Regions from separate parts of the Homo sapiens genome. Here all the other regions are linked to region 5. Evidence: promoter capture Hi-C in 16 types of primary human blood cells and fetal thymus (Javierre and others, 2016). All regions are on one chromosome and are shown on one strand. Each heading gives the region's core, a stretch centred on a gene start or on the middle of the fragment in contact. The rest is flanking DNA. Distances are from core to core; before and after follow the strand shown. Region 1 overlaps GRAP2 (GRB2 related adaptor protein 2). Region 2 overlaps FAM83F (family with sequence similarity 83 member F). Region 3 holds the start of TMA7B (translation machinery associated 7 homolog B). Region 4 overlaps FAM83F (family with sequence similarity 83 member F). Region 5 holds the start of RPS19BP1 (ribosomal protein S19 binding protein 1).

Region 1 (4,923 bases), core at 1,435-3,934, 390 kb after region 5:
GTCAGAACAGATAGCCATAGAAGTACCCCACTAAATCCATTCTTCTATCTCCTTCAATATTTGACAAATATTTACTAAGCATCTATCTTGAGCAAGCATTGGAGTAAGTCCTCCCATAAATATGAAGTTGTGTAAATAAGGATGCATGCATTCATGTAAATACAAGTTTAATGCTGGATATATATTGTTTTAAGTGCCTGATATGTATTAGTCTATTTATTCCTATCTAAGGGGATAAGTGCCATTGTTGTTTCCATCTTAAAGATGAGGAAACTGAGGCCAGAGAGATTATACGAACTCCTAAAACCCTAACTCTTAACCACAGCATTCAGAATCTATCTGGTTGTAGTGGAGGACCCAATGTCAAAAAAGCAAGTGCTTTTCCCAGACCATGAACACAATGTGTGACAAATTAGCAGTTCTTCCCCTTGCCCTAAGATAGTAAATATCCACCCAGGCCAACTTGTGTCTGTCAGAGAACAAAGAGTGGGCTTGTCACACTGTTTTCTCCCAAGAGGGTCCATCTGCCTCCGCTCCTTTGGTACACGCTAGGGGACACACACTGTCCAGCATATTCTTGCAGAGTCATATCTTACCCCACATCTTATCACAACCCTGCTGAATGTCAGGCACTATCAAGAAAATGTTCACTCATCTTCTTCCCGTTATGCCCAATGTGTGAACTGATAACACATCTAAATTCAAAGAAAATCAACAGACATCACCTCAATCAACCTGAAAAGTCTGGTGACTCATTCCCACCCTTCTCACGGGGCTCCTGCTGGGCTGCCTGGTTCTCCGGAACCAGCCTCCAGGCCTCCTGCAGCCGGGGTGCAGCTCAGTGTTCGAGCCCCCTCTCTGCTGCCCATCAGATGAGTGTTGACTTTCTTTGGCACAGGCATTTGAGTTGCATTTGAATTGCAGAACATGCTGCCCCCATTCTGTGCTGACTGTGACCCCACTTCATGTGCCCCAGAGGCAGGCTAAACAAGCTTGCCTTGGAAAAAATAACAGGGAAGAAGATGCTGACTCTCCAACCCCCAGAGTAAGTTCCGTCACTCTGGAGGTAAAGTCATAATATCTAAATATGGCTCGATTCATGTCAGGTCTTATAAATACACACACACACGTGGATGCTGAAACCGTGCATGCCCTGACAGCCAAAAAAAAAGTCAAAACGACTTACTGTCTCATTAGCAGGACAAGACCTGATAGGCCAGCTCACCAGAATAAAGAATACAAAAAATGGGTATTTAACTTCTCTACACAGACACACACACACACACACACACACACACACACACACACACACACACAATCTGATGTAACGACCTCAAGAGAGCTGGTTGCCCTGGCAATGAAGAATCGTTTGTATATTCAAGGATTTTCTTGTTTAAATTTAAGCTAGCCACTTGAACTTCTCGAGCTTTCTTGAGCTTAGCTTCAGGCCTCCATCCCCAGACAGAGGTCTGACATCTATGTCAGCCTCTAGCAAGGCAGGAAGCTTAGAAGTCGGACCAAAACCTCACAAGCCAGCCAGCCTGGATTTGAATTTCAGCTCTATGGTTTCTCAGCTGTGTGACCTGGGTTAGCTGCTTAACCACCTTGAACCTCTATTTCCTCACCTGTACAATGGGAATAATAAAATTAAAACAAACTTGCATGGGTTCATTATGAAAATTAGATTGATTGATGACATAATACATAGCAAGCATTTAGAGCTGTGCCTGATTCCGAATGTGAGTTATCTGTAATAGTGACTTGAAATGGGTTTACACTGCCTGGCAGGAAACCATTCAATTCCTTTTTGTTTTTGACTTTAATCTTTGAAGCGCTTTCATCTCATTTCTTCTTATTTTGTGTTTGTGGAGAAGGAGGATGTTTAGCCATCCTTGGAGTACAATCTTTTATTAAAAACCATTATTAAGTCTCTTCAAGTTTCTCTTTTGTAGTAAATGATCTAGATTACTTAATGGTTCTGTTTTACATGTTTTAATCATTTATTTGAACCATCTCCAGATGTAGTACACACAGAAATATTGTCTAGGAAAATGTGTTACTGAAATTCCTTATCATCTGTGGTCCATTAGCTCAAATGTTTAAAACCCATTGTTTTTATTTTTATTATTTATTTATTTAGTTATTTTTGCAAGACAGGGTCTCACTCTTTTGCCCAGGCTAGAGTGCAGTGGCACAATTATAGTTCATTGCAGGCTCGAACTCCTGGGCTCAAGCAATCCTCCAGCCTAAGCCTCCCCAAAACTTCTTATTCTTAAGAGCAAAGTTGAGTTCCATCATATTGTCAGTTGGTTTCACTCCATCATATTGCCAAAACCACCTAATTCTCAGATGCATAGTTTAGCACAAGCCAAACCAGAAGAGACCATAGGTCATTCATTCATTATTCATTCAACATTTACTAAGTGACTGCTGTATGCCAGAGGCTGGGCTATGCTGTAAAGTCACAAAGAAGATACTTCTCAGTTGGGAGAGCTTACAGCTTGAGAGAGAAGACACACAAGCAAACAAATCATTACAAATGCCTTTCCATTGGGTGCCATACTTGAAATGAGAAGATGAGGCCAGGGTACCCTTGGGGCAGAAGGGAGGGAGGATTAAGCTCAGGGAACAGCTTTACAGAGAAGGTAACATTTGCACCATATTAAAGGATGGCAAGAATTGAGGAGTACAAAAAGGAGAATAGTCCAAGAAGAAACACTCAGGGATGATTTGCACATTGTAAATTTAGGTAACCTTACATGCCTTACATGGGGCTGCTGTGACTGAGGCACAGGGTCAAGGAAGGGAGCAGAGTCATAAAGCTACCCAGGTCAGCCAAGGCCAGGCTAGGAGGCCTGAGCTTTATCCTGCAGGTGTGCAGAGCCAGAGGAGAGTGCAAGAAGAGACATGGCACAGTCTGATCTGTTTTGCACAAATCACTCTGGAAGCAATGAGGAGGGGAGAATGGAGGTATTTGAGCCTAGAGTCAGGAAGGAGAAGTAGGATGCCAGGGTTGTGGGGAAAGACGATAAAGCCCACACAAAGGAGGGCTGATGGAAAGATGGAAATCAATTTCAGGTATATTTAGGCCAGGTGCGGTGGCTCGCGCCTGTAATCCCCACACTTTGGGACGCCGAGGCAGGTGGATTGCCTGAGCTCAGGAGCTCACAACCAGCCTGGGCAACATGGTGAAACCCCGTTCTACTAAAATACAAAAAATTAGCTGGGCATGGCGGCATGCGCCTGTAGTCCCAGCTATTCGGGAGGCTGAGGCAGGAGAATTGCTTGAACCTAGGAGGCGGAGGTTGCAGTGAGCCGAGATTGCTCCACTGTACTCCAGCCTGGGCGACAGAGTGAGATTCAGTTAAAAAAAAAAAAAAAAATTCAGGTATATTTAAAATATAGTGTTTAGAGACCCATTAGTGGAAGATACCAGATTTGAGAAAGGGGAGGAAAAGACACGGAGGAGTCCAGAAGAAATTTCCAGATTTCTGGCCTGGATAACTGTGAGGGCAGTGGTGCCAGATAGTGCCAGAATGAAATATATAGATTGGCACAAATCCATCTCTCAGAAATGCACCTCTGAGACATCTGTTCTGCTGAAGGTCAGTAGGGAAGGCCAACTTCATGTGCAAAGAGCAATATGTGTGTATTTCTTACTAGCTATTCTTTTTAAAATACTTCTTAATATATGGGACATACATGAGCTAAGATAGTATTCATGCAGGAGGTTTCATTTTTCATTTTCTGGCAATTGTGTTTTCAAATATGAGATGCTAGCATTATTTCAGTTATCTATGCCTAGCATAGTATATATCTACGGTTCAAGATTATTAATTGTCTCCCCTGCCTCCCCACTAGAAGGTAAGCTTTCTGAAGCCAGGGATTTTGTCTCTTTTGTCCTCATCTCCATTCCTAGCCCTTAAAACTAAGTTTGACTCCCAATTATCGAGTAAATGATTGAATTTCCATCTGAGTAAAAAGAAACAGTCATTTCCTTTACTAATGAGGAAAGAAAAGGAAAACAACAAACAAATCTGGACTTAAAACAGTTTTTACAAAAAGATCCAATTTGCAAAAATGGAACTGAAGTTTAAAAGCTACTTTTCTCCCTGCAGCTCTACTTCTGGGAAAGTCACAGCTGCCAGCTTAGATGGTGGTTTTCACTGCCCGGTTACAAATTCTGCACAGTTGTACATATTGGCAGGGCTCAGCTTCCTTAAATGCCATTGGATCAGTAGGGAAATGGTGATTTTCCTTATTGATTTAATGCCAGTTCCTCTTTTATGAAAAATCCCACGTGCTGCTCACTGGCGTATGTACCATAAAAACTGAACGTAGGGGGCCAGAAATTAAGTAAGTCACTCATGTTCTTCTCCAGCCATGTGACGTTAAACCATCTCTACTTTCAGGCTGGAGTGTTCAATCATTCTCCCTTTAAATTTAGCAGAGTGATTATTCCTCCTGGTGGATTGCACATATGCTCCTTTGATCTATGAAATACTCATTCTGGATGAACTTTAAGCTCCCAGGAAATGCATGTAAAATACTGTTTATAAATCGCGGGAGAAATGTTTCACATTCTTATTACTCCCAAGTAATCATACCAAGCCTCTCTCTCCAAGATTCGCTTTTTTTCCTAGAAGAGGGAAAAAGAACTTCGGGCAGTAGCACTGTGACAATCATCACCACGGTCGTACTTTCCATGAGTTTTACGCAGTAGGCTCACGGAAGTGACAATGCATGGTCGGGCGCGGTGGCTCATGCCTGTAATCCCAACACTTCGGGAGGCCGAAGTGGGTGGATCAACTGAGGTCAGGAGTTCAAGACCACCCTGGCCAACATAGTGAAACCCTATCTCTACTAAAAATACAAAAGATTAGCCGGACGTGGTGGTGGGCGCCTGCAATCCTAGCTACTCGG
Region 2 (5,371 bases), core at 1,664-4,163, 500 kb after region 5:
GGCCTGTGTCCTCGTCCTTATAGCAGTGTGGACAAGATGGTGTCGGCACCCCCCGCTCCAAAAGGCTTGAGACAGAAACTGTAGTCCGAGATGGCAAGGATTTTGAACTCACAAAATGCAGCTCTTCATGTTTGCCTGTCTGCCTAGGCACCGGCCCACTCTGTTCTGCCTCTTGGCTTCTCAGCTGTGAGTACGCCTGCCCTCTGTTCCAGCACTTGCACATACTTTGTGAAGCAGTCTCTTACTCATCAAATCTCAAGGGTACATCTGGCCCTCCCAGTTGGATGGCAAGTTCAAGGGTGGATCATGCCCTTGGTCCCTGCACAGCAGCTTCTGCAAGGCTGGTTACATTGGAAGGGCTCTAGGAGGAACAGGATAAGGCAGCACTCTCGGGGCTGGGGTCTGGCTTCACTGCACCCCCCTCCCACCCCACACCACCACCAAGCTGCTGTCTTTCTGAGTCAGCTTCTGTAGGGTAAGTGTTCACAGCTGGTGCAGCTCTTTGGGAAACCTAACCTCCCAGTGAGCTGAGCCCCTGGTGCGGCCGCCACGCTTGCTTCTGCCCCACAAGGGCAGTAAGCACAGGACTTCTGGATGGATCTGGGAGCCTGCCCCTTGGGATTTGGCAAAACTTCCCATCTCCTTAGCTACCTGTCCTTAATCTTATCCCTGACCCCTCGAGGGCTTTCAAGATAGCCTCTGTTAACATCACTACCCTCTGCCTGTGTAGAACTTTATAGAAAGGCTAGGCAAAAAATGAGACCCAGAGATATGGAAGAAACTGGCCAAAGAGGGGAAAGTGGGCTATTTCTTTTTTTTTTTTCTTTTTTTTTTCTGAGACAGAGTCTCACCCTGTTGCCCAGGCTGGAGTGCAGTGACAGCGATCTTGGCTCACTGCAAGCTCCGCCTCCCGGGTTCACGCCATTCTTCTGCCTCAGCCTCCTGAGCAGCTATGACTACAGGTGCCCACCACCATGCCTGGCTAATTTTTTTATATTTTTATTAGAGACAGGGTTTCACCATGTTAGCCAGGTTGGTCTTGATCTCCTGACCTTGTGATCCGCCCGCCTTGGCCTCCCAAAGTGCTGGGATTACAGGCCACCGTACCCGGCCAGGCTATTTTTTTGTTTTGTTTTTGTTTACTACTGTATTGCTTTTCTCTTTTTCATATTTATTGAGCACCTACTATATGCCAGTCACCATGCTAGATGCTTTAGTAACATGAAGGTTTCAAACTAAGAAAAGCTCAACAAAGAGCCCTTTAGAAAGGTAACAGTTTTCCTGTGTATTGGGGGAGTGGGTCTCATAAGGTTGTATGATGAGAAGCGCAAGTAATTGTTTTGTTTTTTTTTTGAGACAATGTCTTGCTCTGTCGATCAGGCTGGAGTGCAGTGGCGTCATCTCAGCTCGCTACAACCTCCACCTCCTGGGTTTAAGTGATTCTCTGGCCTCAGCCTCCTGAGTAGCTGAGATTACAGGCACGCGCCACCACGCCCGGCTAATTTTTGTATTTTTAGTAGAGACAGGGTTTCACTATGTTGGTCAGGCTGATCTTGAACTCCCGGCCTCAGGTGATCTGCCTGCCTTGGCCTCCCAAACTGCTGGGATTACAGGCATGAGCCACCACGCCCAGCCTGGCTAAGGTTCATTATCCCCATCTTTCAGATGAGGAGGCACACAACTCTCCCCAGATCCCACGTCACAGAGAATGCAGGTCTGAGTCTGTTCCTTGAGCTCAGGGTCTTGGCAATGGTGATGCTTTGGAGCTGCAGAATCCTCTGTTGGGGATGGGGCTGCCCTGTGCATTATAGTACGTTTAGCAACATCCCTAGCTTCCACCTACTAAATGCCACTAGCACTCCTTCAGATGAGACCACCAAAAATGTCTCCAGATGTTACCACATGTCCCCTGGGGGGTAAAAGTGCCCCCGTTGAGAGCACTGGCTCTTTTCTTCACAGTCCTGACCTGGTGGCCTGCACAGGCCACTTCTCCGAAGTGTTTCAATGCACTCTCTGCCCTGGGTACCTTGGACACAGCACCCTGGCCCAGAGAGGTTGGCTGACTTGCCTGAGACGCTGCTTCCTGGGAGACGCAGTAGCATCTTTCCTTTCTGTTCTGGTTATCTTTCTTAGTTCTTTACCACCTTATATTCCCCATGACAGGTGTGTTTATGTACACACATCTGCCTCACTCCACTCAGCTCCCTGTCAGGTTTCCTGCCAGTCTGTCCCTCTTCCTTCAGGCTCAGCTACGTCCTGCACAGACAGTACCACTGCACATACCTGTGTGTGCCCAGCGGTGGACCCACCTCCAAAAGCAGCCAGTGCTGACAGCAGAGAGCCTTCCACACTCAAGTCAGGCCAAGCAGGAATCGCTACCTGCCTGTCATGACCACATTCTCAGTGAACATTGACAAAGCCCCCTTAGCAGCTAATTAGCCCTGCCGTGCGCTAGGGATGCAATTTCTCATCTGGCAGTGCGCCACACTCCTGCCTCCCTGCCCAAAGGACGTAGTGGCTGCTGCTGATCGTCTGCACTGCTGTTCCAGGGGCAGGAGGTTTGCTGCAAATCAGGTACCCCCAGCTCAGTGAGCAGAACCAGTCCAAGGTTGAGTGAGGAGAAGGGCAAGAAGGGCAGGCACAGCCGTGAGTATGTTCTGGGGCTAAGTAACCATGAGATCAGCCCAGAGACCTTGCACAGTTAGGCAGGCCTGGACTTCTCGCCCTTCCCCTTGCAGCTTCTGCTCTCCCAGCTAGGGACTGAGGAAAGCCCTGCTTCTAGATGCCATGTGCTGCTGCCTGGCACGATAGGTACCCATCTGTCCTTGGGGTTCCTGAGCCTGGAGAGCGGGCTTTGTGAGCACTGGTGCCTCACCTGCCTGGCTCAGCTCTGCAGCCACAATATATGCTTAATACCTATTTGTTAAATGATTGAAGACTTGACTGCCATTCAGTACAGAGAATTAGCCAGGTGAATAAACAGGATGTGTCATAGAGGTTCTAGAATTGATCATGACCCTTTCTGTCTCATTCCTGACTTCTAATACCGTATATGCCAAATGGGGTTCTGCTGTGATTTAATTTCTTAAGGACTGGGTTTATCAAAAGTCCCTCCTGATCTAATCCTTTCCTCTAGGAAGGCTTCTCCTTTCTTCATCTGTCCTAAGTGCATGGTCTTCATCTCCTGGGTGGTCCAGACTAGGTGGCACTGGGCCTGCAGGCCTCTAGCTGCTCAAGGATGGCCCTGTCTGCATGCTTCCTTTCAAAAGCTAGCATAGAAAGGAGGGCCCAAGGTGAGGAAATTTGTCCAAAGTCACCCAATGAGTCGCAGGAAGGGCTAGAATCTGGTTATCTGGACCGTCCTAGAGCACTTTCACAGTGACAGCCGGCTGGAATCAAGTTTTCATTTAGAAAAATGGCTAGAAGTTAGGGCATTGCCTGCAGCCACTGAAAAGCAGCTTTAGGAGCAGATGTCCACGTAATAGAAGGAGATGGGCTAGGGCCTGCCACGGAAGCCAGCAAGCGCGTGGGAGCTGGGGGAGGAAAGGAGCAAAAGGCAAGAACAGGCAGTATGTCCGCGGTGCCCACAGTGCTGTGGGTACAAGCAAGGGGAAAAGAGCCCATGGTGTGCAGAAAACCATGCGTCATGATTCTTATTTCCTGCTCGCAGCTTTGACTCTCTGCCTCATCTCTTCCTGGAAGTGTCTTGGAAGTTAGGCGACTGCACAGGGAAAGGTTCGCTGCAGTGCTTGCAGGCCTGCACCCATTTATTCATCCGGTGGATATTTGCTGGGTGCCCGGCCTGGGGATCCATGGTGAGCGAGGAAGGCATGGTATTGAAGTGGTATGCCTGCATGACCTTGGCGGGGGCGCATGGCATAGAGAGGACAGGCTTCAGAACAGGCAGGCAAGGGCTGAAATCCTATCTCTGCCACCGAACAGCTAATGACCCCAGCAAGCAATTTCACATCCCCGAACTTTCCTGTTTCCTCATGTGTCAAATGGGGATGATCTCGAGACGACTCTCCAGAGTAACCACGTGAAGCACCTAGCACAGGGGCTGACGCAAACAGCTGGGCATCGGAGGAGCCTCCAGGGTTGTGACCTCCAGTGGCTTATTTTCCTTTTGGGATCTTCTCTCCTAGATCCTCCCCTTTAATTCCCTGTGAAATTTACCACTTTCATATTGAATCGTTGGCACACAGGGCTAACTGCTTGTTCACCTGAAGGAAGCTACAGAGTTCAGGTTTCTTTTTTCTTTCTTTCTTTCTTTTTTGCTTTTTTAAGATGATCTTGCTCCGTCACCCAGGCTGGAGTGCAGTGGCGTAATCATGGCTTCCTGCAGCCTCAAACTCCTGGGCTCAATGAGTTCCTTGAGATCTTCCATCCTCAGCTTCCCAAGTAGCTAGTAGTAGTAGTGGCTTGCACCAACGCTCCTGCCCTAATTTTCAATATTTTTTTGTAGAGATAGGATCTCACTGTGTTACCCAAGCTAGACTTGAACTCCTGGCCTCAAGCGATCCTTCCGCCTTGGCCTCCCAAAGTGTTGGGATTACAGGCATTAGCTACCACACCTGGCCAAGGCCCAGGTTTCGACAGAAAGGGAGAGAAAACCTGCCAGAGATGCCATTTCGGAGCCACTCTGCTTGGCAGGGACCTGTGTTCCCCTCATGCAGGTTCATCCTTAGAGGGCTGCGGTCTTATCTGGTTGTGCAAAAGTCCCACAACCTTTCTGGATTGATAGTTTGTGGTGAAATAAACAATTTTAGTTTGTTTGGAGAATCTTTTGTATACAAAATACAAATAAAACCTAAATCAAAGAAACAGAGCATGTCCGGAGAAGTCTGCCAACCCTTCTCCAGGCCATGGGGCTTCCCAAGCCAGGCCTGTACTCCTCATGTAGATTCCACACCCCGCCTTGATGTCTTTGGCTTTCACACTAGTGACTATAGCCTGGTGGGACGGGGTCTAGGGGCCACAGTCCTGGTCCTGCGCAGGTGGCCCTGGAGAGAAGCCTTGGAGAACTTGGAGAAGCCCACGCGGCTGGCAGCATCATGGTGAGAGGCTGACACCTTGTGGCTGGCTGGCAGCATACGTCCTTCCTCCCCTAGGTCAGCTAGACGGCCAAAGCAGGGATCTGCAAGCTCCTTCTGTGGCGGGCCAAAAAGTGAACATTCAGTGTGTCTGTTGCAGCTACTGTCATAGCACTGAGGCACCCCTAGACAGTACAGAAACAAGCAGGTGTGGCCATGTTCCAGTGAAACCTTATGAATACTGAAATCTGAATCCATAATTTTCATGTATCACAAAGTAGTAATATTCTTTTAATATGCAAAAACCGGCCAGGTGCGGTGGCTCATGCCTGTGACCT
Region 3 (5,066 bases), core at 928-3,427, 430 kb after region 5:
ACCCAATGGTCAGAAGCATGGTGGCCTAGGGGCCAAGCATGGCAGCAGCTTCACAACCTGCTGCTCCCAGTGCCTTCCCAAAACATGCACACACCACTCTTTAGAACACTGGTGTGTGTTTGAAATTATTTCTACGCCCATCTGCCTCCCCTTCTAGCCCAGGTGCTTCTGGAAGGGCAGGATTTTCCTCTACTTCATCTTTATGCCTTTAACAGTGTCTTGCATAAAAGAGAGACACTCAGTGAGTATTTGTGGAAGGAAGGAGGGATAGGAGGAGGAGAACTCCCACTTGTCCAGATCCATCTGGGGGTTTAAATCTTAACCTTTTCTTTTATGATTGATGCATATCTGAAGAAGAGTCAGAGAAAAATAGAAATCTCAAGTCACTGCTGTAGGATATACAGGGGCGGAAAAGTTGTGGCACCTTTCTTTGCCCATCAGAGGAGTCACAGCTGACACTCCTACAAGACAGGTTAACAAGAGGAGAGTGGACACATTTATTTAATCAAAGACTTGTGTGACACAGAAGCCTTCAGAAATGAAGACCCAAGACCCAGGGAAAGCCGTCTATTTTTATGCTTAGGTTTGTCAAAGGACAGACAGCCCTGTAGAAATGGGATTGGACAAAGGGGGTTTGATCTAAGGTAACAGACTGAGGTAGGAAACTGAACAAGGCCTGTCCCAAGTCTTCTTTTTTTTTTTTTTTTTTGGAGACAGCTGTTGCCCAGGCTGGAGTGCAGTGACGCAATCATTGCTCACCACAGCCTCTGTGTCCCAGGCTCAAGCCATCTTCCCACCTCAGCCTCTCAAGTAGCTGGGGATACAGGTGCACACCACCACACCTGGCTAATATTTTTTTAACTTATTTCTTTGTAGAGACTAGGTCTTACTGTGTTGCCTGGGCTGATCTCAAACTCCTGGCCTCGAGTAATCCTCCTGCCTTGGCCTCCCCCATAGTGACCCTTCTAGTCTCTCTGACCCACTGTGGGGAAGAGGAATTCTAATTTCTATGACTCACTCAGGGGGAGAAAGAGGAGCGGGAGACAGGAGGGCAGGAGAAGGCCAAAGGAAGACTTTGCTTCCAAGGCTGCTTCTGAAACCTTCCCATCTCCTTTGGTTCGAAGCACTCAGCATGCCAAGGGGTGTCGTTTTCTGAGCCCCAACAAATACATGTATAGTTGTAGGCAGCTGAACAAAAAGAAAGGCTACTTCAACACAGTACAGTACAGCAAGACCGAAAACCACAGAACAGAGGGCCAGGAGTGGGGGAGGACTGTAACAGCGAAATCTCACTAAGGTGCAGCAACCCATAGGAAGTGACTCAGTCCACGCGTAGACATTACACAGCCCCAAACTCAGAAGCCCAGTTCGGAACACACTGTGTGTGGTCAGCATGTTGAGGATCGCAAGTCACGTATCAGACTTCACCACATGTGAAACTGCAAGAATATAATGCTGTTAGCAGATCAGGAGAAGTACAGCAAAACCTTACTGTCAAGTTATTGGCAGGAAATACCGATCTGGTTTATTCAATATATTTTGAAAGGCATAAAGCTTTGTTTTAAGGACAGAAATCCAATCTCAAGTAATAAACTGTGGCCACTTTGCTGTTTAGAAAGAATGGATATTTGAAAGGATAGGTAGGAAGGACTTAAAAATAACAGGTCAACAATTTGTATGCATACATACCTTTAAAGTGGTCTCTTTAGCATTGCCCTTGCAATCTTGCTTAAACTCTTTTCTTCAGTAAAAACTTTATTTTCATAGCTTGGAGAATGGTTAACTTTAGTTCAGGCCAATATTGATGTATCACAAATTCTAATCTTGTTAGGTCTTAATTAATGAAATTTCGCTCCATTAACATATATTACAAGTCAGGGTCGGGCGCCGTGGCTCATGCCTCTAATCCCAGCACTTTGGGAGGCTGAGTTGGGAGGAATGCTTTAAGCCAAGGAGTTGGAGACCAGCCGGGGCAACTAGTGAGACCTCATCTCTACTAAAAATAAAAAATTAACCCAGTGCAGTGGCGCATGCCTGTGGTCCCAACTACTTGGGAGGCTGAAGTTAAAGGATTGTTGGAGCTGGGCGGTTGAGGTTGCAGTGAGCCAAGATCGATCGCACCACTGCACTCTAGCCTGGGTGACAGAGCAAGACCCTGTCTCAAGAGAAAAAAATTATTTACATATATTATATACATATATTATTAGAAAAAACAATTATACATATATTTAACATGCGTGTATATATATTACAAGTCAAATCTATTTCTTAAGCCTCCCCTCTTTACCCCATCATAAACTTGACCAAGTAATTTGTTAGACTGAGGGGTATCTCTTGGGCCTTTGGTTTGCATGAAGATGACTCTGGCTTTTTCAGCTAGAAACTATGGTTTTTGTGGTTTCGTTGGTTTTTTGAGACAGACTCTCGCTCTGTCGCCCAGGCTGGAGTGCAGTGGCGCAATCTCGGCTCCCTGCAACCTCCGCCTCCCAGGTTCAAAGCAATTCTCGTGCCTTGGCCTCCTGAGTAGCTGGGACCATGGGTTCGCACCACCACGCCTGGCTAATTTGTGTGTGTGTGGTTTTTTTCAGTAGAGACGGGGTTTCGTCATGTTGGCCAGGCTGGTCTTGAACTCCTGGCCTCATGTAATCCACCCGCCTCAGCCTCCCAAAGTGCTAGGATTACAGGCGCGACCCACTGTGCCCGGACCCAGAACTATGGTTTATATTTCCTTAATTAAAGTGAGTTCTACAAAACAGTAGGCCTTGACTTCTACCGAAGTCTTCCCCTGATATTCAGGCGATGAAGCTTCTAGTTATGGTGACAATTACCGTAATCCTTATCACGTCTTTGCAGAAATGTAGTATAATATTTTCCAAAGCAAAATCATTATTAATTATTTTTACATCTGTCATGGGCACAGATAATTAAGAGCTAATTGTAGTTCTATCACTCAGCATTTGTTAAGGGCCTGAAACACCAGATTTTGGAGTCCAGCGCCCTGAGTCGCATCCTTTCCTTTGTTCCTCTTCAGGCTTGAGACAATGGTCAGGCCATCCTCTCCTTGTAGACCCAGATAACCAGCTGCAACCCTCACACCCATCCTTACAGCTTATGAGAGTAAAAGGGTCAATGTTTCACACTCTGAGTTCTTTGAGGTGGTGGATGAAAAATTATAATATCACAAGAATATTTTCTCCTCCTCACCTGGATGTGAAGGATAATGACTTTGAGTTGATCCATGTTGTCTTAGAATGAAGAAAGTATCTGTTGGTGGCCAAAACCAAGGGGAAGACCACAAAGTGATTGCAATATGTTGATTACCACCCGAAATCAGTCAAGCAAGAGGCCACTTGTACAACCTGTGGCTTCACCCAGCTATGAGCAAATCCCAGCACATAAGATGAGATTGAGGGTCAGAATTTCCATCTCCTTCTTAACACAGGTCCCTAAATCCATCCCTAAGAAACCTCCATGGTCAGGCGCAGTGGCTCACGCCTGTAATCCCAGCACTTTGGGAGGCTGAGGTGGGCGGATCATGAGGTCAGGAGATCGAGACCATCCTGTCTAACACGATGAAACCCCGTCTCTACTAAAAATACAAAACTTAGCCGGGCGTGGTGGCGGGCGCCTGTAGTCCCAGCTACTTGGGAGGCTGAGGCAGGAGAATGGCATGAACCTGGGAGGTGGTGCTTGCAGTGAGCAGAGATCACGCCACTGCACTCCAGCCTGGGCGACAGAGCGAGACTCTGACTCAAAAAGAAACCTCCACTTACTCTCAGAGGTATCTTTACTCTCCGAGACCCTTTAAAATTCTTGACCTTTCTTTTACATCAGGCAATTGGCATCACTAGTGCCAGTTTATTTTTAGATATAAATGTATGTCTGTTTGAAAAATAAACTTTACATCCAAAAGAGAATGACTTGGCAATGAAGTAAAACTGGATCTAATGGTAAAGGCTCAGCCCACCCTTCCTAGATGGATAAAATCCATTTTCTCTAGCCCTGGTTCGAATGTGTCCCATCACTTGTGAGTCCAGACTGGCAACAAAAGGTGCTGATCTAAAAGAAGTTATCGTCCAGTGGCAGGGTCTGGGGAAGGGGCGGCAGGCGCCATGTCCAGCCACGAAGGTGGCAAGAAGAAGGCACTGAAACAGCCCAAGAAGCAGGCCAAGGAGATGGACGAGGAAGAGAAGGCTTTCAAGCAGAAACAAAAAGAGGAGCAGAAGAAACTCGAGGTGCTAAAAGCGAAGGTCGTGGGGAAGGGGCCTCTGGCCACAGGTGGAATTAAGAAATCTGGCAAAAAATAAGCTGTTCCTTGTGCCTAAGGAGACGGTGACCCTTTATTTCATCCGTATTTAAACCTCTCTATTCCCTCCTATAATATCTTTTGCCACCTATAGTTGGAATTAAGTGTCGTCTTGGAGCTGTTGTACATTTAAGAATAAACTTTTGTAAAAAAAAAAAAAAAAAAATCTTCCAGTGGCTCATCATCTCTTTAGTTGTTTTCACTAAGTCATTCCTACCATAACTGTGAATTTAAAGTAAAACCAGCTCAGAATCTTGCCAGAATCTGCTCTTTGGTCGTTGTTCTACCCTAAACTTTGTATCACCTGAAATTAAACCAACTCATTTGAAAGAAAAAAGAAGTTATCATGTTTAGGTGGCGTGACAGGCCAAGCTCACTAGACTGGAGTCAGAGACTCAGGGTTCTGGCCTCAGCCCTTACTCAGCAGTGACCTTGACCAAGCCCCTGCACCTCTGTGAGCCTCAGTGTCCTCATCTGTAAAATGGAGAAGTAAGGCTAAACAATCTCCAACATCCTTGCCAATTAAAACTCTATCATTTCACAGGGCGCAGTGCCTCACACCTGTAATCCCAGCACTTTGGGAGGCCAAGGCAGGTGGATCACCGGAGGTCTGGACTTCAAGACCAGCCTGACCAACATGGCGAAACCCCGTCTTTACTAAAGACTTGGTGGTGGGTGCCTGTAATCCCAGCTCCTCAGGAGGCTGAGACAGGAGAATCGCTTGAACCTGGGAGGCGGAGGTTGCAGTGAGCAGAGATCA
Region 4 (5,401 bases), core at 2,724-5,223, 470 kb after region 5:
ATCGTAACTGCCCCGGAGTGGACTTACAGCAAGACCATGTGTAGACTGGGAAACTCTTGGTTCTTATTTGCAAAGCCAGAGTAAGGGGACCAATCTGGATAGGCTGGCAACTTGGAAGGATTGTGCATCCGTTTGACCACTGGACAAATATTTAGAGGTTTACTGCATGTGCTAAGCATACTTTAGTGGAAAGCAGATACCTAAAACACACCTCTGCTCTTAAATAGCCTAATCTTCTGCTGATCCATCATCTAATACAGTCTGAGGAGTGCTGGACAGAGGGCGTGGCGGGAGGGGCACTAGCCCAGCCCCTAAACCGGGTTAGGGAAGGCCCTTTGATGCCGAGGACCTGTCTACAGGCATGTCGGAACACAGCAGGAAGCTGAGATGGCACGAAGCTGTCCACCCATCTTGCGCCCAGGCTCCCTTGTGACCAGCGGCATCCAATTTTGAGGCTGCTGGGCGGATTTAGAGAACGTTGCCTTGTGCTTTGGGAACAGAGGCAAGTTTACCACATCCGCTTCTCAAAGATTGACCCTTGACCCCCGCATTCCTGGCTCACACCCAGATGAACCATTGACCCAGCTAACCAGCTCATCTTGGTTTATCACAAACTGTCCAATCTCCTCCGCACCTCAATAGCTGCGTAAGGCAGGGTCTTGTCTTCATTACACAGAGGCTCCCTCTGAGCTCCAAAAGGGTGAAATGACTTATCTTCAGACCAGGACAAGGAGGTTACACAACATCCCCAGGTCCTTGGTTGGGATTACCAGTGACGCCAGTGACCCCATGTGGATTGTAAACACAACGTAGGAGAGGGAGGCTGCTGGAGTAGGTAACCATGACTAACTAGGAGCTGCTTCTATTTTTATTCCTGTTGTAGTTAGTGGAAAAGGCCTGCCTGAATGGTTGAGGAAGGAGGGTAACCAGCCAGGCTGGTCCCTAACCCACCTCTGCCTGTCGATGGGTTTGTCCCTTTTCCTTCAAGGCCTGGCTAAGAGGCCACCTCTGCCTTGGCATTTTGTCAATTTAATTTTCAATCCAGAAGGTCCACACAGTTTGCTTTGGGAGAGTGCATTTGACCCTCCTGGATTGGGAACTTTGGAAAAGAGAGACTGGCTTACTCTCTCAGTTTCCTTTCCGGTACCCGAACAGTGCTCTGACTGTCACAGGTGATCAATTATCTGTTTATAGAATTGAAAACTGTCTTCTATTGGCCGCCTGTCCCTCTGGGGAAGCAAGTGTCTGGAGATGTCCCCATGGAATTGCACATTCCCTGGGGAACTCCTTTAATCTACATCGTAACAAGCTGGCTGGCAGCAGAGAGAAGAATGCTCTAAATTGGGGATATGGGGTGCAGGGAGGGAGGTGCATCAGGGGATTTAGGGAAAGGCTCCAGAGCAGGAGGCATGGCTGGCTGAGGTTAGCAGCCTTGGTTTGAGGTCTGGGCAGCTGGTGGGAGGAGGATATGGTGAACAGCTGGGATACAGATGCCCCCGGGCATGGCAAAGTCTTGGAGTCATCAGCTCAACTCCACAAAAGACTCAGCTTTGCATATGGTGGGCCTGGCCCCTGAGTGGAGCCTACCGTCTTTCCCCATTAACTGCAAATGACGTTTCCCTCATTCAGCTACACTGGCAAACAGTACCAAGCGCCTTCTCCATACCAGGCACTTTGCTGGACATTGAGATGCTGCAATGAAGCAGATGCCCAAAAAAACCCTAGTTTAAAAAGTATGTAATTTTTAAAAATGTTACTGGTTTTTGAATTCTGAAAGTCAAGCAATACATTCATTAGTCACCTCACCACCTTGTTTGAGAGCTGGTCCCAATTCTTGACTTGCTCCTAATACCTTCCTGCCTCCCTCTTTTCTCCCATTATCCTCCTCCCCTTCCATCTAAGGGGGACAATTGACTTTATCTAGAAGCTCGTAAGCTGCCTTTTAAAAGCCTGATTTAAATTCACAGAGCAAGAAGGGCCTCTCAGGCAGCCCAGGGACCCACAGGCCCCATGCACTCCTAATCGTTCCACCCTTCTGCAAGTGGCCATGCCACATGAGCTTTGTTTCAGAGGCACTGGGCAGTTCAGAGTCCTTGCTGCATTAAGGCTGGTGGATAATGGCACAGCTGCAGCTCCAGAGAATAAGCACTTAGCCTTTCTGGGATCTTGCCCCGGCCTGTCCAGGTATTCCTGGCAAGCCCTGGACGAATTGGCTATTGGGTTCTGAGTCTTTCTCTTTTATGCTTGATCAATGATCCCAGGAGCTGGCATTTCTGAGCAATGGACCAGCTTCATGTCAAAAACAGAAGACAGACTCTGAAGTTGAAAGGTCTTGATTTCTGCCCTCATCTGACCACTTACTCACTGTGTTCCCTTGAGCAAATCACCTCCCTCTCTAAAGCTCCTGGCTGATAAAATGGGGAAGATAATACTGAGCTTCCTGGATGGCTTTGAAAAACAAGGGAGGGTGGGGCATGGCGGCTCATGTCCCCAGCACTTTGGGAGGCCGAGGCGGGCAGATCGCTTGAGCTGAAGAATTTGAGACCAGCCTGGGCAACATGGCAAATCCCCATCTTTACAAAAAGTACAAAAATTAGCCAGATGTGGTGGTGTCTACCTGTAATCCCAACTACTCTGGAGGCTGAGCTGGGTAGGTAGGAGGATTGCTTGATCATGGGAGGTGGAGGTTGCGGTGAGCAGAGATTTCGCCACTGCACTCCAGCCTGGGTGCCAGAGTGAAACTCTATCTCAAAATAAATAAATAAAAAACAAAACAAAAAAACCCAAAAAGATAAGAAAAACAAGGGAGAAACCATGTGTGAAAGCTGAGGATACTGGAAAGTATCATACAAATGTTCATTATTTTAGAAAGTAACTGCTGTCATCTCTGCCTTTTTGCAGAGCAGAGGAGGGAAGGGTGGCCAAATTTTCTCCCCAGAAGTTAGGGAGCCCCACCCAGGAGATTAGAGGTAGGGGAATTGGGAGGGCCAAAGACCCTGTGCCGGCGTGTTTCCTGTTTCCACCTTTGAGCGAGACAGGAGTGGCTGCCCACAGCCCTCCCAGCCGCTCACTGTATTGATCTGTTTGCCTTGATTTGGTGGTGGTGGGCCGTGGTTGGTAAGGGCAGCTTTCTGCCGGCCTCCGAGCTGCCTTCGGGAGGCTGTGGCGTTGGAATCCTCAGCCCAGGATCTATGCTGGGATCTGGCATGGGCAGAGAGGGATAAAGCAGGAAGGTGCAGAGGCTTCCTTGTTCCTAAAGCGGGGGTCCCCTGAGGATGTTCCCCACACACGGTCATCCTGAAGGGCCAGACTGCTGCACAGGCCCAGCCCAGAGAGCCCCAGGGCAGCCTGGAAAGACTCCCCAAGTTCTTTTAGTTCTGGAGAACTAAAGCTTTCATTGGAACAAGAGGGTGGAGCTGCTGATGGTTAACCCTGATGTAATCATTGCCTTGGGCTGTGTTTCCCTCTTTGGGGAAGAGGGAGGGGAGAGTTGGCTCCTCTGAAATCCGATACTTTGGGTCCCTGAACCTCTGAGGATGGGTGTTTCCCAGAAAGTTCAAAAGTAGAAGTTGGGGCCTCAGTAAACTTCATGACCTTCTCTTGAAGGTTCACGGTAGCAAAGCCAGTTCTGTTGGGTGGAGGTCTCCAAAAGTCCAGGCCACTGGCGGGTGGAGGGATCCCATGCGGCTGGGAGCCAGGAGCCTGGGAATCGTCATTTTTGCCCTGGCCATCTCTTTCCTAGCTCACTGGGTGACGTGGGGTACATCATTTAGCTTTGCTGGGCCTCTGTTTCTGCATCTCTAACATGGGGATAATTCTTGCCTTCTTATTTCCACAAATTGTTCTGAGAACCTAGTTCAAGGCTATGAGAAAGCACTTTGAGAAGGGTGAGTGATGCGTGCAGTAAAAGGGATTTCTCTGAAGAAGGGCTAATGTTGAGTGACAGGATCGGTGCCCTGTGTGCCATTTCGTTTCGTTAATCCAACCCTCAGCACCTTGCAAAGGAAGAGATATTTTCCCTGAGGCTCCGGGAAAGCATAAGGTTGCAGAACTCAGAAGAGGCTGGGGGAGATTCCACCCAGGTCTCAGCTCAAAGTGGTGTCCATCCACGGCAGTTGCCCTTGGGAATTGTCCTCTGGGGCCATCTCTTCCTCTAAAACTTGCAGAAACATTCAAAGTCTGTATGTCGCCAGCCAGGCCCTGGGAGGCTCTTGGACCAGTTCTAGAGACAGACAAGTACACAACTGCCAGCTGGTCCACTCTGTGCTAAGGCTGGGGAAGAGGGTTCCTCCTGCCTAGTGACATTGAGGCAGGTAACACAGGGAAGCTGGGTACAGGTAGTTTCTCCAGAGACCTAGATTGTCCTCTTTATGGCCACTTTCTGGCCCCCTGGGACTTACGCCCCTCCCTGACAGGCTGAGACCTTGAAGTGAATCCTAGCCCAGCAACTGTCAGTCCCCCCATCTTCTCACCCCCAGGGATGCTGCCTCACCTTGGCTGGTGGCCAGATCTGCCTCCCTTTTCTTAGAGCGTGCAAAGCAGAGCCTATTTGGGGACAAGCTTCCAATCCAAGCTGGGGGAGGTGGGGAGGAGGGCAGAGAACAAATGAGCCCAGGGCTGCGTCCTAGCTGACCACCTGCCCCCTGCTCAGGGGGGGTGTCCTGAGCCACCCCCAAGGCTGAGTCATTCTAGCTATCCCTGCCTGCCCCCACCCCCACACACCATGCCAGGTGCCATGACCAGCCGGCCTCAGCTGGAGCTGCTGCCCTTCCCAGTTTCCTTGTTCATTCTCTGAAATCAGAGTCTGTGGACTTGCTAATGATCCCATAATCTTAGCCCTGGAAGAGAGCCTATGGCTTTTCTAATTATTAGTCTCTCTGGCCCAGGTTTCCAATAATCTGGAAACATATGCACGCCGGGGCACAGCTTGCACGCCGGTCATCATTCTGCTGGGCTCCTTGCAGTCCTGGCAAGGCATGTGGGAGGCTCCGGATAAGTGTTATTTTATTTATTTATTTATTTTTCAGCAGTGAGTCAGGAGATGGGGGTGCGGAGGTGGGACCCAGAACTCTCTACCTTTCAGTGGGCCATTGAGGACAGACTATGAGTTTCCCGAACTCACCCGCCTGGGAGGGCTCCCAGATGGCCTGGAGATTCCTTGCATTTGCTCATTCACTCACCATGTTTCACTGAGACCCAACTATGTGCCAGGAACCAGAAATTTACAGAGGAGTACGGTGAGAATTCTGCCTTAAGTCTAATGGGGGGTGACAAAAAGAAACTAAATTTCAGCACAGTGGTAGGGGTGGGGATATTGATAGCTATTACTTATTGGGCATATAAGTGCTAGGCAAATGCCAGCCCTTTTAGAATTTTATTTTATTTTATTTTATTTTATTTT
Region 5 (5,311 bases), core at 2,798-5,297:
CATTTGACCCCACCTGGCTGCTCACCAGAGCATGAGCCAGAAAAGGAACACACCGGGTGAAATGCTCCGCTCATGGCGGACTCCACGCTCCCCGGGCGCAGGCGGAAGTAGCAACACTCCCACTGCCGGACCCAGCCACCTGCACTGGAACTGCTCCCAGCAGCTATTTTTGCCTCAAGAGTCACCTTTTCAGCTGTGGTGGCCATCCCCAGAGGAGGGAGGCGCCCCTGGCAGCAGAGGTGGGTGTTCTGATGGCTGCCTGCCGGGGCTGGACTGGAGGACTTGTGACCCGGAGCTCAGAAGCACGCTGGGAGATGGGGAAGGCAGCGTGGCGCTTTGGTGCCACAGGAGATGGGAGACACCCTGTGGGGCAGACCAGCAGCAAACACAGCTCTTGGGTTCACATTTATTGTAACTTGGAAGCCCACCCTTCTTCCTACTCCTGGAGCTGTCGTCCCCAAGGGCTCAGGAATTAGCCTTGCTCCACAGCAAACAGCCCAGAGGCCCCACCTGGGCAAAAGCAAACAAAACAGATACGTTCCTTTCCGGCAGGTGCAGATGCTCTGCCCAGGCCTGCGGAAGCCAGCTCCGGTCTGTGTGTAAATCCTCCCCAGGACTTCCGGCCCACCAGCTCCATTCCAGCCTCCACTCGGCTCAGCTCCGCGGCTTCCTCGAGCCAGGCTGGTCCTGCATCGCCATCTGCTGGCCGCGCGGCACGGCCGGTTCCTGGAGCCAGCAGGAGTCGGAGGCTGCAGGGCTTGAAGGCCTCTTCACCGTGCCCTCCAGGGAGCCTAGCTGCCGAAGTATTCCTGCTGGAACTTCTGGAAGTCTTCCTCGGTGAACACGGTGCCCTCAGCCTTCTTCTTCTTGGTCTTGGCCACAGGCCGGTCACAGGCCTTGCGGCCCCGGTTCTGGCGCAAAATCTGGCGAGGGTGCGGGACCGAGGGCCCATCATTTCAAGAGCAGAGGAGGCCCGCAAAGGTCACAGGGGAGTTCGGCGCAGGGCAGGGCTGGCCCAGCCTCCCACCCTATGCTCAGGGCTGAGACCGCCATGGGTCCCTAGGGGAACAGCCTCGGCTCTCACCTCCCAGGTCCCTTCCTATAGTACCCTCGACCAACCTGCTGGCTCACAGACTCAGCCACGGTGCTTCTCGTCCTGGTCAGAAACTTCAGGTTTACTCTGAGGTGGTCTCGACACTCTCGCTTCCGGTACTCGTCTGTGGGTAGCAGGCAGGGAGCACCATTTCAGATTCACTCCCCCTGGAACCATTCTCAGTCCCTGGCCCATGGCCCTGCCAAAGACCTCATCGTTCCCTTCCCAGGTTATTACAGCGGCTGGGCTCTTCTCCATCAAATGCATTCTCCACACAGGTCCTGCTGAAAGCCCCAGGCTCTTGGCCCCCACCCCCATTTTCCAACAATTATGTCCTGAATACTACTCACCAAGGGAGCTACTCTGGAGCTTTCGCTTCAGTGAGAGATGAAGGACAAAGGACCCAGTATTTTAGAAGCGCAAACATTTCATGGAGAAAAACAAAAGAGGAAACAGAAAAGGGGAATTCCAGGGGTGGAGGGTGCAATTTCAAATAGGAGGGAATGAGAAGGTCTCACTGAAATGACTCGAAGAGAGCTGTGGATATCCGGGGAAAGAGCATTTGTCTAGGTAGAGGGAACACCCAGTGCAAAGGCCCTGAAGCAGAAATGTGTCAAATGTGTTTGAAAAACACAAAACAGCTGGAATGGCTGGGTGCGGTGGCTCACACCTGTAATCTCAGCACTTTGGGAGGCCGAGGCAGGCAGGTCACCTGAGGTCAGGAGTTCGAGATCAGCGTGGCCAACATGGTGAAACCCCGTCTGTATTAAAAATAACGAAAATTAGCTGGGTGTGGTGGTGGGCACCTGTAATCCCAGCTACTCGGGAGGCTGAGGCAGGAGCATCGTTTGAACTCGGGAGGCTAGAGGTTGGAGTGAGATGAGACTGCACCACTGTACTCCAGCCTGGGTGACAAAGCAAGACTCCATCTCAAAAAAAAAAAAAACAAACCAAAAACAACAACAAAAACAGCTGGAGTAGGGGGAGTGGGTAGCAGGAAGAGACCAAGTTTGGCTGGGGGTGGGGGTAGGTCATATAGCCCTTGTCAGGCACCCTAAGACCGCCACCTTTTAGTGACTACAATGAGAGCCACCCAGAGGAAAAACAAGGAATGACTTCTGATTTTACACGATCACTTTGGTTGCTGTTGAGAACAAGATTACGGGGGGAGGGGCATGTGGAAGGCAGGAGACCGGCTAGGCTTCTGCAATAATTCAGGCAAGAGACGATGCAGCTTGGAGCAAAGTGGCAGCTGCAGAGGTGTTCTTTCCATTGGCTGCGAGGCTTGCCATTCCTCTCACTCAGCATCTATGTGCCAAAACCTGTGGTGGACACCAAGGCTGCGGACAAGCCCAAGGAGGTGTGTGCCTTTAGGAGCTTCCATCCAACAGGGGAGGTGGGTGAGCACCCAGGACACGACAGTGAGACAAGGGCTGGGACAGATGGGAATGACCTCTGGCACTCCACACTCCTGCTTCATGGCAAGTATCGCTGGGGCTCAAACCTGTCTCACTTTCCTGCCTCCAGACTTTGGCTTAAGTTGTATTTCCTCCTTGGAATTCATAATTCTTTTAACAAATACTTTAACATCTTTTATGCATTAGACTCTAGGGATTCAGACACAGTAAGAGCTTGCCACGTCCTGACACATGTCAAAATATCACCATCTTGCCTACACCAGCCCCTCCGAAAGTCTTTATGTCTATTAAGTGACACTACGTCCCCCAAGAAACTAGGCTCCACCTTCACAGCCAATTCACCACTAAAACCCCTCTAAAGGCTGAAATTCTCTGCTGCCCCCTCTTTAACATATTTTCCACCTGCACAATTCTCTTGTTATCTCTGCTGCTATAGCCACTGCCCAGGCCACAGCATGTCCTATTTCAATGGAGTAGGTAATAGCAGCACTCTGGAGACACAATGCCCGGGCAGCCACAATGCCTGTACCACCTGGGCAGGTGCCTTTTTCTGAATCTGTAAAACGGGGGTGATAGTAGTATCGACCTCAAAGGGCTGCTGTAAGGATCAAACGAGCTTACATTTGTACAGCACTTAGAATCAGCACCTGGTACAGAGTGTTAGTGAATGTGTTTAAATGCTCCATCTTTGATCCTCATTCACTAGGTCACCTTTACCAGCCTTTATTTTTTCAAATTCTCAAAGGCAACAACCTCCTTTCTGACTCAGGACCTTTGCACATACTATTCTTCCTAGAATATTCTCCTACTTTTCACCTAGCTCACTCTTATACATCCTTCAGCTCTCGGCTGAAATGTCGCTTCCTCAGAGAAGGCTGACTTGGCCTAAGTCCCCATCAGAGTACCGTAGTCTTTTAATTCATAGGCTTCAATGCACTTAGCAATGACACACTGGGTTTGATATTCTTTGATGCTTCTCTCCCCACTAGGGCCGTAGTCCACGAGGACCAGGACGGTGGCGTGTTCTGTCACCTTCGTATGTCCAGGGCCCCGCTCCGCGCCTGGCACACAGTAGGTCTAGCAATACCGGGCGAACGCTTCAAGCCCTGCCTCAAGCGCCACCTCCTCTGGGGCGCAGGTCCCAGCACCGGAGGCAGCACTTTCAGCCCCTTCCCGAACTTACCCAGTGCCGACTTGGGCACCTTTCCCTTGGCCGAGTTCCGCAGTTTCTGGGCCTGAATTGCCTTCGTCTTCCGGGGCCGTTTCACCGGAGCCCCTCTCGGCTTGGCCTGACCTGGAGGGTCCCGGGGGGCTGTAGGGGAAGAGAGAGGAAGAGACCCAGGTCAGAGGGCGCGCAGCGTTCCCATGCCACTGGGGCTAAGCCCGGCCTGGATTGTTTTCCATCCAGGGCTCCCGCCCGCAGCCACTACCATCCTCCTGCCCGCGCCGGACGTCCCCTGGCCAGCCCTCCTCACCCTCGGACGCCGCCAGCAGCTCCAGGCCCCGCCGCAGCAGGGCGGCGGACATGGCGGCGCTTGGCTCCGCCCACGAGCCTCACACTACTTCCGACCTGGCAGTCCCTGTCGTCTCGGCGGAAACCCGAGCCCGAACAGAGGGATCCGGAGGGGGATGGGCGGAAGTGCCCATCTTTCTTAGGACGCATGCGTTAGGGGTTTACACTTGAGCGGAAGAAGGGGCGGAAACTGGAGGCGGGTCCAAGGCGCAGAAAGACACATGTGTTACTCAATCCCAATCTACCTGGCTCCTGGCGCTCAGTCCCCTCCTTCCCCGGAAGCCGTCCGCAACCTGCTCCGCCGGGTTGGCCAATCCTCTCGGGTCTCGTGGCTCCGTGGCGGGCTAGGATGGGGACAGGGCGGAGTGTTTTTCATATACTTCAACCAGCACTAGGTATCGCACAGGTTGAGTGCAGCATGAGAATCCAGTTGTCTTCCCTTAAGCCAGACATTAAAGACATATCTTTGTTTTGAAAACTACAATTATTTCTCATAAAATACGTTGTTTATGTTACCAAGCAATGGGTTTATTGTCATTTTAAGTGAATTAATGAATATGTAAAATTTTTGTTTTAGTTTCTAGTATGGCAAATATCAGTTGCCTACATACAAAAGTTCTTTGGGATCCTGAATTTTTTAAAATTTATTTTATTTAATTAAATTAATTTTTTTTTTGAGACGGAATCTCGCTCTGTCGCCCAGGCTGGAGTGCAGCGATCTCGGCTCACTGCAACTTCCGCCTCCCGGGTTCAAGCGATTCTTTTGCCTTAGCCTCCCGAGTAACTGAGATTACAGACGCCCGCCACCACGGCCGGCTAATTTTCTTTTTAAAAAATTTTTAGTAGAGACGGGGTTTTGCCATGTTGGCCAGGCTGGTCTTGAACTCCGGACCTCAAGTGATCCGCCCACCTCAGCCTCCCAAAGTGCTGGGATTACAGGAGTGAGGGGATTCTGAAGTTTTAAATGTAAGAAGCTTCTTAGACCAAAACATTTGAGCCCCTCTGGCCTAGAAGTGACACTGCTTACCTGGGGGAGGAGCCCTGGGCTTGTTCGCTGCTCCATCTGCAGCTGGCAGCCCAGCACCTGGCATGGAGAAGACACGCAATAAGTGAACGGTGAATCAGAAGGGACCACTGGGTTCACTCAGCCGGGTTCTGAGGGCCTTCTGTGTACTTGACACCACAGAGTGTGGGACCTGGAGTTCGTCCTCCGGGATAGACCACACCGTTTAAGCTCCATCGGCTAGAGAGTAATAATAACAACCAACACAAACTCAAGCATTTGTG

Evidence for each region. Contacts are between HindIII fragments. The CHiCAGO score rates a contact against its expected background, and 5 or more counts as called.
Region 1: a fragment that was not itself captured here is called in contact with the fragment with the promoter of RPS19BP1 in region 5 in 1 of 17 cell types (total CD8 T cells); the score reaches 5.3 in total CD8 T cells.
Region 2: a fragment that was not itself captured here is called in contact with the fragment with the promoter of RPS19BP1 in region 5 in 13 of 17 cell types (naive CD8 T cells, naive B cells, total CD4 T cells and 10 more); the score reaches 12.8 in naive CD8 T cells.
Region 3: a fragment that was not itself captured here is called in contact with the fragment with the promoter of RPS19BP1 in region 5 in 5 of 17 cell types (naive CD4 T cells, total CD8 T cells, naive CD8 T cells and 2 more); the score reaches 5.4 in naive CD4 T cells.
Region 4: a contact is called between a fragment that was not itself captured here and the fragment with the promoter of RPS19BP1 in region 5, in 1 of 17 cell types (activated CD4 T cells). The highest score is 5.1, in activated CD4 T cells.

What each region holds. Positions count from the first base shown.
Region 1 is chr22:39,919,674-39,924,596 of GRCh38, forward strand. All of the region lies in intron 1 of GRAP2 (GRB2 related adaptor protein 2), which reads left to right. Among named protein-coding and RNA genes, the nearest start is that of GRAP2, 21 kb to the left of the region's middle. RefSeq lists an enhancer at 1,405-1,454. The HindIII fragment of the contact is 2,365 bases long and covers 1,503-3,867 here.
Region 2 is chr22:40,031,750-40,037,120 of GRCh38, forward strand. FAM83F (family with sequence similarity 83 member F) reads left to right here. Exons shown (of 5, transcript NM_138435.4): 5 at 1-5,371. Among named protein-coding and RNA genes, the nearest start is that of TNRC6B-DT, 10 kb to the right of the region's middle. The HindIII fragment of the contact is 9,682 bases long and covers 1-5,371 here.
Region 3 is chr22:39,960,263-39,965,328 of GRCh38, forward strand. All of the region lies in intron 4 of GRAP2 (GRB2 related adaptor protein 2), which reads left to right. TMA7B (translation machinery associated 7 homolog B) reads left to right here and starts at 135. Exons shown (of 2, transcript NM_001396013.1): 1 at 135-657; 2 at 3,658-4,643. The coding sequence starts at 4,113. The coding sequence ends at 4,307. RefSeq lists a silencer at 4,966-5,066. The HindIII fragment of the contact is 1,251 bases long and covers 1,553-2,803 here.
Region 4 is chr22:39,998,897-40,004,297 of GRCh38, forward strand. The region is part of intron 1 of FAM83F (family with sequence similarity 83 member F); the gene reads left to right. Among named protein-coding and RNA genes, the nearest start is that of FAM83F, 6.6 kb to the left of the region's middle. The HindIII fragment of the contact is 1,169 bases long and covers 3,390-4,558 here.
Region 5 is chr22:39,528,701-39,534,011 of GRCh38, forward strand. RPS19BP1 (ribosomal protein S19 binding protein 1) reads right to left here and starts at 4,048. Exons shown (of 4, transcript NM_194326.4): 1 at 3,987-4,048; 2 at 3,695-3,823; 3 at 1,120-1,217; 4 at 393-923. The coding sequence starts at 4,038. The coding sequence ends at 792. RefSeq lists enhancers at 1-142, 3,262-3,777, 3,778-4,293, 4,083-4,142, 4,193-4,242 and 3 more and silencers at 3,503-3,632, 3,813-3,972. The HindIII fragment of the contact is 8,920 bases long and covers 1-4,996 here.